2 separate regions of the Homo sapiens genome follow, and region 1 is linked to region 2. The links are contacts of gene promoters, found by promoter capture Hi-C in human tissues and cell types (Jung and others, 2019). All regions are on one chromosome and are shown on one strand. The core of a region is centred on a gene start or on the middle of the fragment in contact, and the rest is flanking DNA. Distances in the headings are between cores, read along the strand shown.

Region 1 (6,064 bases), core at 3,311-5,810, 65 kb after region 2:
GCACAGCACAATGCACTTTCTCATTCCTTACTACAAGTACTCGCACAACCACCCCGTGATTCTGGAATTATTATCCCCCAGTCTTAGCTATACAGAGCTCAAGGCTCAGATAAGTAATTAACTACTTATCTAATTTTCTAGAAAGAGAAAAATGAATAATATGATTCTGATTCTCCAGAAGTTTACAGTCGAGAGGGGGAGACAGTATTGATATAGCTGAGGAACTACAGATACGAGAAAGAATTAAATAACAAAGCAAGATAAGGTGATTACATTTTGAAATGAGAGAAGAGATAAGAAAGGCACAAGCAAGTCATGCCTGTAATCCCAGCACTTTGGGAGGCTGAGGCAGGCAGATCACGAGGTCAAGAGATGGAGACCATCCTGGCCAACATGGTGAAACCCCGTCTCTATTAAAAATACAAAATTAGCTGGGCATGGTGGCACGCACCTGTAGTCCCAGCTACTCAGGAAGCTGAGGCAGGAGAATTGCTTGAACCCGGGAGGCAGAGGTTGCAGTGAGCTGAGATCATGCCACTGCACTCCAGCCTGGCGACAGAGCAAGACTTCGACTCAAAAAAGAAAAGAAAAGAAAAAGAAAGGCACAGGGATCACTGTGGACCGGGATAGTCAGTGAAGGTGGGCTTACATCCAAAGATGAAGACTTGGTCACTGGGAAGGGGGTGAAAGAGGACATTCCAGGAAGCAGGGTGGTGTTGAGCAAATGCCTAGACTCAGAAGTTAAATGTAATTTGGGAGGTGGGGTGGAGCATGCCATGAAGGTACAGACATGTGGAGTGAGAGTATTCCTTAGCACAATGCCTTATGTGAAGGAATGATCAGATGCATCAGAGAATGAAAGAGTAAGTGGCGGATACTGCTATGTAGGTGGGAATGAAGTTGGATAGATGTGGTTGGATTGGGTTGTGGAGGGCTTCAATTGGCAGGTTGAGGAATGACAACCTCTAGAATCTAGAACACCTAGCTGGAGATTTCGTCTCTATAGAAGGGAATCGGATAATTATTTGTGATTCTTTATTGGTAAAGCCTACCCTAGAGTCAAATATATGAATATCATGAAATCCAAATCCAAGCAAAAAAAGAACACAAGTAGCCAGACATTTTTTTAAAAAGTATAATCATGTACAAACCCCCTAAACATCCCATGATACAAGAGTGGTTAAGCAAATTGTGGGGTAAGACTGGAGAAAGGGAGGTCAGTTCAGAGGTTGTCGAGGCTATGATAGTGAATAGTACCAGAGAACTGAGAGTAGGAATGGAGAGAGGTGGATGGATCCCAGAGATACATCAGAGGTAGAATCTACAGGACACGGTAACTGATGGAGTGAGAGACAAAGGAGAGGGAGGAGTCAAGGATAATTTATGCCTGGGTTTCTGGCTTGAGCAACTGAGTAGATGAAGGTGCCATTTCCTGAGGTAGGAGAAGATAAAGAAGCCAGTGTGTCAGGGGAAATGATCAATCTGGCTTTCAACAGTTTGAGTTTGGCATCTGACTAAAGGCATTTGCCAAATAGCCGGCTGTGTGGGTCTGAAGCTCAAGAGAGTGACCTGAGCTAGACACATAGATTTACAAAGCACCAGCTTCTAGCTGATAAAGGAAGGTGTGGGATGGACAACACTGCTGGCAACACGAGTAGGGTGGGAAATGGAGCTAGGATGAGGCTGGAGGAACCCTAGCATTTAAGTGGGGGGAAGAATTGGAGCCCAGAATGGAGACCAGGAAGGAGTAATCAGAAAAGCAAAAAAAAATGCCAGGGAAGGAAGATTGTGGTCAGCACCCTCAGATGGTGCTAAGAGGTCAGGTAAAAAGTGGAAATCACGGCGTCTATTGGGTGGAGCAACTAGAAGGCCTTTGATGACTGTGGCAAGGACAATTTCCATGGTATAGTGAGGACCGAAGCCAGATCCAGTGGCTTGAGGAGCAAGTGGGAGGTGAGTCTAGCCACATCATTTCAGAAGTTAGGCTGTGAAGGACATAAAAGAAATACGACAACAGCTGAAGGAGAACAGAGGATAAGGAAAGACTTAAGATGGGCCAGAATGGGAAGGACAGAAACATCTTTAAATGCTTCAGGTGGAGGCAGTGGAAAGGACGTAGAAAAAACCTGGAAGGCCATATGCCTACATGGTAACAGCGGTAACCTGTGGGTAGTGTAGTCCAGAGGTTCCTGAATGTTCAAAAACAGGCTGAATGATGTTTGTTGGAGTTTTGGTATTGTCTGTTTTATTGCTACAAAATTCTTTAAAATATGTCCATTTACATGTAACATCACACAAGTATGCAGAGATTTGATAAATGGAAGCATTCCTCTGCCTGCCTACATTGGACGGCAGGGAGGTTTGCCCGAAGCATCGTGGTGATGAATACCAGTGGTGCCCAGCATCCAAGATGGCCCCAGTGAGCCACAGCTCCTGGCTTTCAAGGCTTTGTATGAAAGCCCTCGCCACATTGAATCAAGGATGTCTGTGTGACCAACAGAGTATGATAGAAGTGACAATTAGGACCAAGGCTAGGTCGTAAAGGGCATTGCCATTTCAGCCTCAGTCTCCTGCATTGCTCACTCTGGAGAAAGCCAGTACCATACCATAAAGACACTCAAGAAGCCCTGTAGAAAGACTCATACGGAGAGAAACGGAGGCCTCTGGCCAACAGTCAGCACCCACTTGCCATTCCTGTGAGTGAGCCATCTCAGAGTGGAGCCTCTAATCCCAGCAAGCACTTACATGCAGCCCCAGCAGACCCTTGACAGCACTTCAGGAGGGACCCTGAGCCAGCACCTCCAGCTGAGCCTCTCTAAATCCCTGCCCCACAGAAATCAGGAGAAATTTCCAATGATTAGTATGGAAGCTGCTACGTTTTGGGGTGATTTGTTATGCAACAATTAACTGTTGTGGGCACCCTACATGTGTTGTGGGGCCCATGGGAGCGTCATCCACTAGACAACGGTCTGGCTATAACAGCATTTAAAAATAGAGGTACCAATTGTGTGTTCGATTTAAACAAGAAGTCATGTGCTCCGGCATCCTTCTGTGTGAGGAGCACAACCACTCCTACCACATCACACACACTCAAATTGATAACGCTACCTGTTTTGTAGATAATATTTAGTATGTGAGTGTTGTGTACGACTCAAGTATGAGTCAAGCATATGTGGAGGTTTTCAGATGCTATAGTTTTAGGATTTAATTTTGGAGGAAGTGAACTTGAACAGTTTCAAACTGCATAATTAATGACATTCCATTTTCATGACAACTACTAATTAATCTTGCCTGTTATCATAAACTTTTAGCCTGTGGGAGTTTGGGTCTTCCTAGCTCACATGGGAGAACAAATTGTGTTAGACTTTCATTTTGTTTTTTTAATTGTGAAATGACTGGGGTTGAGATAAAGTGGTGGGAAGGGGTGGAGTGGGTGTGCTCCCTGGGAACCATTGGACCATTCATTTAGCACCTGGGTTTATCAAACCCCCTAAAGTCAGGGGTTAGCTCTTTCACATCTGCCCCATGGCCAGCACAGTGCCTGGCACATAATGCTGGTTCAGTAAGTATTTGTTGAATAAATACTAATTCTGCTCCTTTCCTTGTTCTTTCATTCTACTCGTAGAGTTTAATAAAAACCCTGTGGAAGGTTTGGTATGTTTCACCTCTACAGAGAAGGAATGAGAAAAAGTGTTTCACATTTCTCTGGGGTCAGTATGACAGGACAGTGCTATCTCCCTTCCCTTCTCCCCTCCTCATGCCCTGGAGCAGTGGACCTGGAGGATAAGAGCGGGGTTCCTCTCCTGGACCCCTTCCCGCTCTGTGAGCACCAGTTGAGGAGTGTGTCAACAACAGCAATAGTGGCAGAGACTTGGGGGTGTCTGGAATATCCAAGGAATGGTCTTGTGTGTAGAAGTGAAGTGGCTTCACGAGTGAGACCCATTCTCATTCAATGGGGCCCTTTTGGTTTCATTGTGTGGCCTAGGGTTAGAACATGGCAGCTGGGAGACACTTTGATTTCCCAAGCAAGCTTGGCCAAGTCTCCCTCTGTCCTCTGAAGAGGAGGCAAATCTCCCTTCAGGGCAGTCAGTGGATTTGCGCCTGGCCCTGGCGAATGTGGTCATTTCCGGAAGGAAACAAGAATAATTTTCCACTCCCACATTCTGGCCACTGCAGGGCAGGGAAACCACTTGCCAAGTCAGGCAAAGACATTCCTGGCTCATCCTGGGGCATTGTTTGAGCTCATCATCTGAACCTGATGACAAGAGACAGGAATTGTTTTTGTGAGACTCGTGGGTCAGGGAGCTTTGCTGGTTCAGAGAGAGGATTGAGGTCATGCGACCAGGCAGGCTACCATGGCCACCAGCAGCTCTTTAACTTCCATGATGACTCGTAGATAAGCCTGGAGAGATGGATGGCTGCAGACTGGCAGGAACACTTGTCCTGGATTTGGGTAGGCCAGGGACACCAGGTTGCTGTTGCTGGAATACTTGGAACAAAAGCACTTGTTTCTGAAACCAGATATCTTATCATAACCAGCTCTTGCCTCTCCATTTATAAAGGATGGGGTCAGCTAGACTTGGGAGAGGACAACATGACACAGACATTAAAACAATTGTGTGTCCAGACCTGCCCAAAGGCTGTGGGCGAGTTGGCAAAGTGTGTTTCTGGTGCCCTCAGGTGCCCCTCTGTGGAGCTCATTTTGAGCCCACAGATGCCCCGTGCTTACTCCCTCCTCTGCTCCATCAGAATTTGTTTCAGTAAAGGATTTGATATCAGTCATGCACACTATAGTGGAATTAAAGCCATTTAAGCCTTTTCTCAGAGTGTGGCTCTCATGGCTTAAAAGGCAATCTACTATGATTAATCAAAGGCCACAGTACAAACCTTACTTAATTCAAAGAAATTCTAGTTTTTTGCTACTTTAGAAAAAATGAATTAAACAGTTTTTACTTAAAAAAAAACTTACAAGGGATGTTAATTAACTTTTTAATCTTGTAACTTTGGGAAGTAAGTTGGACAATTATTATTATTATTTTTAGAGATAGGATCTCAGTCTGTCACCAATGCTGGAGCGCAGTGGTACGATCATAGCTCCCTGTAACCTCAAACTCCTGACTCAAGCGATTCTTCTGCTTCAGCCTCCTAAGTAACTAGGTCTACAGCCATATACCACCATGTGGAGCTACATTTTTTTTTTTTCGTAGGAACGAAGTCTTGCTATTTTGCCAGGCTGGTCTCAAACTCCAAGCCTCAAATGATCCTCTCGCCTTGGCCTCCCAAAGTACTGGAATCACAGGTGTGAGCCATCATGCCTGGCATGGACAACTATTTTTGCCCCTATGTTGCAGGGAGGAAACTAAGGCAGAGAGCACAAATGATGTGCACAAGCTCCACAATGAATTAATGAGCTGGCATTAGCATGAAGGCCTCTGACTCAGGCACCAACGTCTTTCCAGGGACCCTATAGTCCCATGTAGGCCAAAGAAAGCTCCATACACCTCCCCCCTGCAGGTGACAAGTGCTCCACGCCTAAGTATCATTTAGCCCACGTAACAGTCCTAGGAGCTAGGGACAGTGCCTGCACTCACAGATATAGGCATGGGGGCTCAGAGAATTTTTTAAATTTTTAAATTTTTTGTGGGTACATAGTAGGTGTATATGTTTATGGGGTAATGAGAGATTTTGATATGCAATGCATAATAATCACATCAGGATAAATGGTAAGCAACTTGTCCAATTGCTTACAACCAGAAAGAGGCAGCATGAGAATTTAGTCCAGGTCTCTTGAGCTCCCAACAGGGCTCTTTGCTTGTAGCGGGTCGTTTAGAGAGTCCCCAGACCCCTCTCAGCATCTGAGCAGAGAGGGGTAGGAATGACGCACGAGGCCATAGCTTCCAGGCCTTTAGCTCTGGGGGAATAGTTGGTAAGGGGCTCCTGGGACTTTTCCAAGTCTCCAAGGCACTGGGAGTTCCCACGATGTGAAGATCTGCTGAGTTGGCTGAAAAATGTAAATAATGCACTTTTGGCTTTTTGAAGCCACATTCCATTTTAGTGATTTATC
Region 2 (5,902 bases), core at 1-2,500:
AGGGGGGTGCAGCAGGCAGCGTGATCCCGAAGGGGAGGGGTGTGGGTGCACAGAACCAGAAGGACAGGGACAGCGGGAGAGACAGAGGGAAAGACAGGGAGGGAGAGAGAGAAAGAGAAAGAGTTAGCCATTCGTGCGCCACGCCGTGCCGCGCGCCCCGGGTACCTTGGCGGCGGCCTCTTCGGCGGCCAGGAGGCTGTCCTCCGCCTTGTGCAGCTCCTCCAGCACCCGGTCCCGCTCGTCCTCCGACACCCGCAGCAACTTCTCCTTGGCCGCGATGTCCTCCTCGAGCTGGGGGCAGCGGCGGGCGGGCGCGGGCGGCCGGCACGGACCGGGTGTTAGACACACACAACACACGGGCGTCGGGTTGGCTGGGGCCCCTCGGGCTCGGGGCGCCGCCGAGTTGGAGTGCAAAGGACCCGAGGTAACTTCCTCTTTACCCGAGCTGGAACCGCTCCGCGGCTCACCCCGCACACCCACCTGCCCTGGGACGAGACTCCTGCCGAGGTCTCAGCGGGCTCAAGTCCACTACTTGGGGACACAGAAGAACGCCACTGCTGGCCTGGCTTTCGGGCTGTAGCCTCCATTCCGCCCCATCTTTGTTCTTAGGTAACAACTCCAGGACTCCCTTCTCCTCCCCAAGTTTAAGGTTCCTTTCTCCCCAGTCAAAAGTCAACGAACTTCTAACACTTGAGTTACTCGACCCCCTTTCTCCATCCCTCGCCCTTCCTTCAAACGTCCCCAGGAACCGGGTGTCCTCCTCCCTCCCCCAAACTGATTCCCAGTCCTGAGAATAAAGCGCCTCTAGGACTTGATTTCGCGGGCCATGGGAACCAGAGAAGGGAAATAAGCGTCCTCAGACCAGACTAAGTTAGACTAAGCCTGGCTCTTGCGTTTCCCTTCCTTCTTTCCAGACGCGCGCCCTGGCCGCCCTGGGTGGTGGTGGGGGTAGGGTGGTGGCTCCCCGAGTCCTCGGGGTGGGGATCCAGCCGGGGGTGCCAGGCTCGAGTCCCGGCGCTCTGGGCGCGGGCGCAGGGCCGGGGAGGCGCAGACCTGCTTGCTCCTGTCTTCCGCCGCCTTCTTGTCGGCCTCCGCCTGCTCAGCTCGATCCAAGGCGTTCTCCTTGTCGAGCTTCAGCATCTGCATCTTCTTCTTGATGGCGTCCATGGTGGCGGCGGCGAGGGGCCCTGGGGCTGCAGCAGGAGCGGCGGGGCGAGCGCGCGGTCGGGCGGAGGAGCGGGAGTGCGAGCGCGGAGCCGCCTGCTTCTCCCAGATATGTACTTTCCCAAGGGGGCGACCGCATTCCTCAAGACAGCCAATACTTTTTTGGAAAAGCTTTTTTCTCCTGCCCCCCTTCCTCCTCTCCTCCCTCCGCCCCGTGCCCCCTCCCCGCTCCTCCCGCGGGGGCCGCTCGCCCATTCGCTGCCGGCCGCCGGCCTCCCAGTTGACGGTGGATATGACTATATATGGGGACCCGAGCCGCCGAGGCGGCGGCCGGAGAGGCCGCCCTGTTTCTAAACCTGCGCGCCAGGGAGAGGGCGTTGGGGCCGAGCCGGGGCCGAGGCGCAACCCTCCGCCCTCCGCGTGCCCTTCTCCCAGGGCCGGCACCCAGCCATTAGGGTCCCCAACCGAGCCCGCCCTGAGCTGCCGGAGGCCGGGAGAGCGCGGACCAGGTGGTGGATGCGCGTCGCCCCCCTGTGCCGTCCCCCGGCGCGCTTAGCCAAAGGCCCGGGGGCTTCCCAGCCGTGCTGCACCCCGCGTCAGGGTCAGTGCGCTCTCGGCACCCGCCAGCGCCTCCCCGGCAGCTCTCAGCCAGCCAGGTGTCATCCTGCGCGCTCACGCTCTGGAAACTCAACTGCAGCAGAGAAAGGGAGAACGTGGGAGAAAGCCTGGGGCGGCTCTTGAGACTTTCTCTGCGGGCGCGGGTCAGAGAGGCAGGGGGCGGCACAGCGACAGCACACGGAGTCTTGTTTTCTGCCTGCCCTTTCCCCCAGCGGAGGGACAGTCAAATACTTTAGGGACACAGGACTCAGTGGCGTACTTCTGTGCTTGCTGTGCAGTGCCTCCAAAAAGGTGTGCATGTGTGCGTGTGTGTGCGGGTGGCAGTCTAAGGGGAAAGAACATTGAGTTTAGACTCAGGCAATTTGGTCTGTGGTCTCTACTCTGCCACCAGCAACTGTGAGACCTTGTTTGCTGCCCGCGGCTTCCTCAACTTTAAATCCAGCGGGTAGATAATCCCCGAGGTCCCTCCAGATATAACTTGTTATCATTTTTCTTGCACTGATTTTAGGGAGTCGGCCTTCCATGTTAGATGCTTAGGTGCCAGGTTTCGGAAAACATGGGATCGGCGTTAACCTGGCTAAGTCATTGCATCCGCAGCCGCAACTCTGAGGAGGCTCTGCCGTGTGAGCTGTGCTTGGAAGGAGGAGGATTTCCCCCAACACTTCTTATTTTTAACTACTCCTCCCATCTCCCAAGGGGGAAAGGCTGCTTTTTTTCAGAGCTTCAGTGGGAGGGGAGGAGAGGGGGCTGCCCCCAAGCCCTGAGATCAGCTGAGGCAGGGTTGGTGAGGGTCTTGTTAATAGTCCCCACAGAATAATTCACAGTCTGTACTGCATGGTTACCAAATATTCCCCGGACGGTATCTGAGCAGATTAGGCAGGCCAAACAACTTGTAAGTCCTTCAGAGAATGATCAAATTCCTCTCCAAGATTTTATCGGGTTTCTTCCACTAACCTAACTGCCCAGGAGGGAAAAGATACACTGACCTAATGGTCAGAACATTAGATCTGACCATTAGCATAGGGGCTGCGTGGCACAGAAATTGACCAGAGCCCTTTAATCACGGTGTGTCAACCCAGCCACCGGAACAGTGACAAAGTTCCAGGCATGTGGACGATATCCAGATGCGTGGACTCCAGGGAGCTGACTCCCCAGGTTGGAGCTCAGCAGAGGAGGCAAGAATAGGGAGTTAGGAGTCAGTTCCAGGGATCCAGACCTGGCCTGGTCACTTCCTTGCAGTGTGACCTTAGCCATGTTACAATCTCTCTAAGCCTTTTTTCTCACTTATAAAAAGAGGCAACTGAACTAGAGAAACTCCTTGCGGGACCACATGTTACTGACTTTTCTTTTCTTACTGTGCCATATGTAGCCGAGGGACTCATTAAAGTTTCCTTAAATGAAATCATGCTACAAGCAATTTATTAAACACACGGTTGTTGAGTACCTGCTATATACTAGGCAGGTACTAGGCTCTGGAATCCAAAGAATGAGTAGCACAGGTCTATGTCCTCCAGGTGTTTGGCATGAGAAAGGTGTTAAGAATTCACACGAGGAAGAAATAGAAATGACTAGGTCAGAGCAGATGGGAAAAAATTCTCTGAAAAGGTGATGGCTTTTAAACTGATTTTAAAGGAAGGGTAGCAGTTAGCTAGAGAGGAGGGCCGTTGTATGCGCCAAGGAAAGAAAAAGGAATGTTTGGTGGTGGTTGGACAGTAGGATTTTGGGGGTGAATGGGGGCATGAGACTGGAAAGGAAGCTTGGGGCTGTATGATAAAGGGCCTTGAATTCCAGATTCAGACATTCAGACCTTATTGTGTAGTTTAAAGCCATCGATGTCTCTTCTTTTCACCTCTTCCTCTCCCAGACTCCCTCACCTAGGGCCTATATTCAGAGGTCGAAGCCTATGGTGTCAAAGTATGGAAATGGAGCTATACAACGCTAACTTTTAAAATCCCTTAGTACCACATCATTGATCTCTAGACTGATGGGTTAACATAGCAGGTCCTGAATTCAATCATTTCTTTTAACCCATGTTGAGATTCTGCCATGTGTCAGGCCCAAGTCAGCTTCATGGGCTATACCACCCATGACCTTTTTGTCACCAAGGGCTAAGACAAAGCTAGGACAAGCAAAACGTCATGACTTAAATAACACATTCTTCTGTAGTGAACAGGTCTCCTGGTCCTCTCCAGAGGTAGGCTGGACAGTCACAGGCTGTATGTAGTGTGTATCCCTGTTCTCTGGCTGATTGGCCACAACTCAAGGATGGATCTAAATACTAACCAGGGACTTGGCGTTGTGGCTTGTCAGGCAATGATGAACTGGGCCACTCAGCTTCTTTCATTGCAGTTTGAATTAAGGAACGTGAAAAATGGGAATCACTAGCCGTGGCTGCTGAAACAAAAAGGGATTGCAGTGTCGGGCTGGAAATGCCACGTGTAAAAGTGATTAAGGTTATTCACAATTTTTTAGGTTTTCTCCCCAGTCAATGTCGTGGTAGCATTGTACATCCCACCCAATTAAGTTGGCTGTGGCCATTTGACTTGCTTTGGCCAAGGAAACGTGAGCAGAAATGACTTCTGGTGGATACTTAAAGAGCTCACGACTAACCATGTTCATTTTTCAAGACTGTGGCTGCTCTGTCATTGTGGGTTTTCAAGTGGCTCCCTCTTTCCCCCCAACTAACCCTTGGTGGACATGTAGTGAGAATAAGATATAAATCTTTGTTATTTTAGGCCACTGAGATTGGGGGTTGTTTGTTACTGAAGCATAACTAGCTTCTCCTGACTAATACAGCACAATAGGCATGCATCAGCTAAGTTATGAAAAAGCAGAGAAGTGATTATAGAGAAAGAATGAAGCAGGCATATCAAGATAAACAGAAGCACCATTTAGAGAAAGAGATTGGGAGAATATGACCAAATTTCAGTTCCAGGGGTCCTTATAATAACCCCCTGTATTTCTTGAGGTTACATAAGCGAGTCTATATTCCTTGAAAGTAAAAAGCTTACCAAATCATGGTGGCATGACAGCCTGCACAACATTCAACATTCTTGGCCTAGAGGCTCTACGTGATCACCACGAACATGCTTGGAATTTCCAGATTTCTCCAGTGCCTGGTATTCAGTCATTTCTCAATGAATGTTTGTTGAACAATTTTTTTTATGACTGACAAGTCCAGCTTTCTTACTGACTTACAAGAAAGTCTGGGAAGGTAAAGTAACAAATCTAGGTTCAAAAGATCTTGTTTCCATTCAAAATATGGGCTCTGTGTCTTATTTCATGAAGAATGAATATAAGTATTGTGATAGGGTAAGACAAATGTCTCCAAATATTTATTGGACACCTTTTGTGTGCAAGACATTTAGGGCTTATGGGATCCAGGGAAGCAGACAAAAGACATGGATCTTTTTCTGTAGGAAAAGTGTCTATGTATGATGCAGGGAGAACCCTCTCTTTGGGAGTCATTTAATATGTATTTCCCATGGCATGACCATCAGCTCAGTTGGTCACCTGGGGCCCTCTATAGTTATGAGGATCACATATCTCGGGTTTTCTAGGAAAGCTTTAATATTAAATATGCTGCCTTTTTCCTTCCATAAAACACTTGTATGTGTCATACTACATTTATCAATATTTGGTTACAAAGGAGAGTCAACATGAGCATCATTTCCCAATGTGACACCTTTAACAGGAATGCCCACTTGAATATGTACATCAGGGTTTGTTTGTTTGAAAAAACAAAATGAAAACCTCATTACCTGATAGTCACCCCTTGTTTAACAGCAATAGCCCTGCCGGTGTACTGTGACTCCCCCAGAGTCAACAGTGCTGACTGAAGCAATTAAGGGAAAGTGAAGAATCTATAATTAAATGGAGAGACGACTGCTTCTTCGTCTCTTTTGGAATGCAGCGTTTTATGCTCACGACTCAGTGTCCCTGGAACAAGATACGGCATGCTCTCCTCAAACACTGGGAGTTGTGTTTCCCAAGGGTTTGTGATGCTACCATCAAGGCCTCACAGAAAATATGCTATGCTTCCTGGGGGCGGGGGGTGGGGCTGGTTTGGATCTCTGAGAAAGGTCTTTAGGCCATTTTCAAGGCGTGCCTGCCTTTATTG

What was found. The method cuts DNA at HindIII sites, captures the fragments that hold promoters and counts their contacts. A contact is called where the count stands out against the background at its distance.
Region 1: a fragment that was not itself captured here is called in contact with the fragment with the promoter of TPM1 in region 2 in 4 of the 25 tissues and cell types used here (bladder, heart right ventricle, liver and 1 more).

What each region holds. Positions count from the first base shown.
Region 1 is chr15:62,976,718-62,982,781 of GRCh38, reverse strand. No RefSeq gene overlaps it. Among named protein-coding and RNA genes, the nearest start is that of TPM1, 63 kb to the left of the region's middle. The HindIII fragment of the contact is 9,871 bases long and covers 1-6,064 here.
Region 2 is chr15:63,038,095-63,043,996 of GRCh38, reverse strand. TPM1 (tropomyosin 1) reads right to left here and starts at 1,250. Exons shown (of 10, transcript NM_001018005.2): 1 at 1,054-1,250. The coding sequence starts at 1,167. RefSeq lists enhancers at 1-478, 1,392-2,306. The HindIII fragment of the contact is 3,976 bases long and covers 188-4,163 here.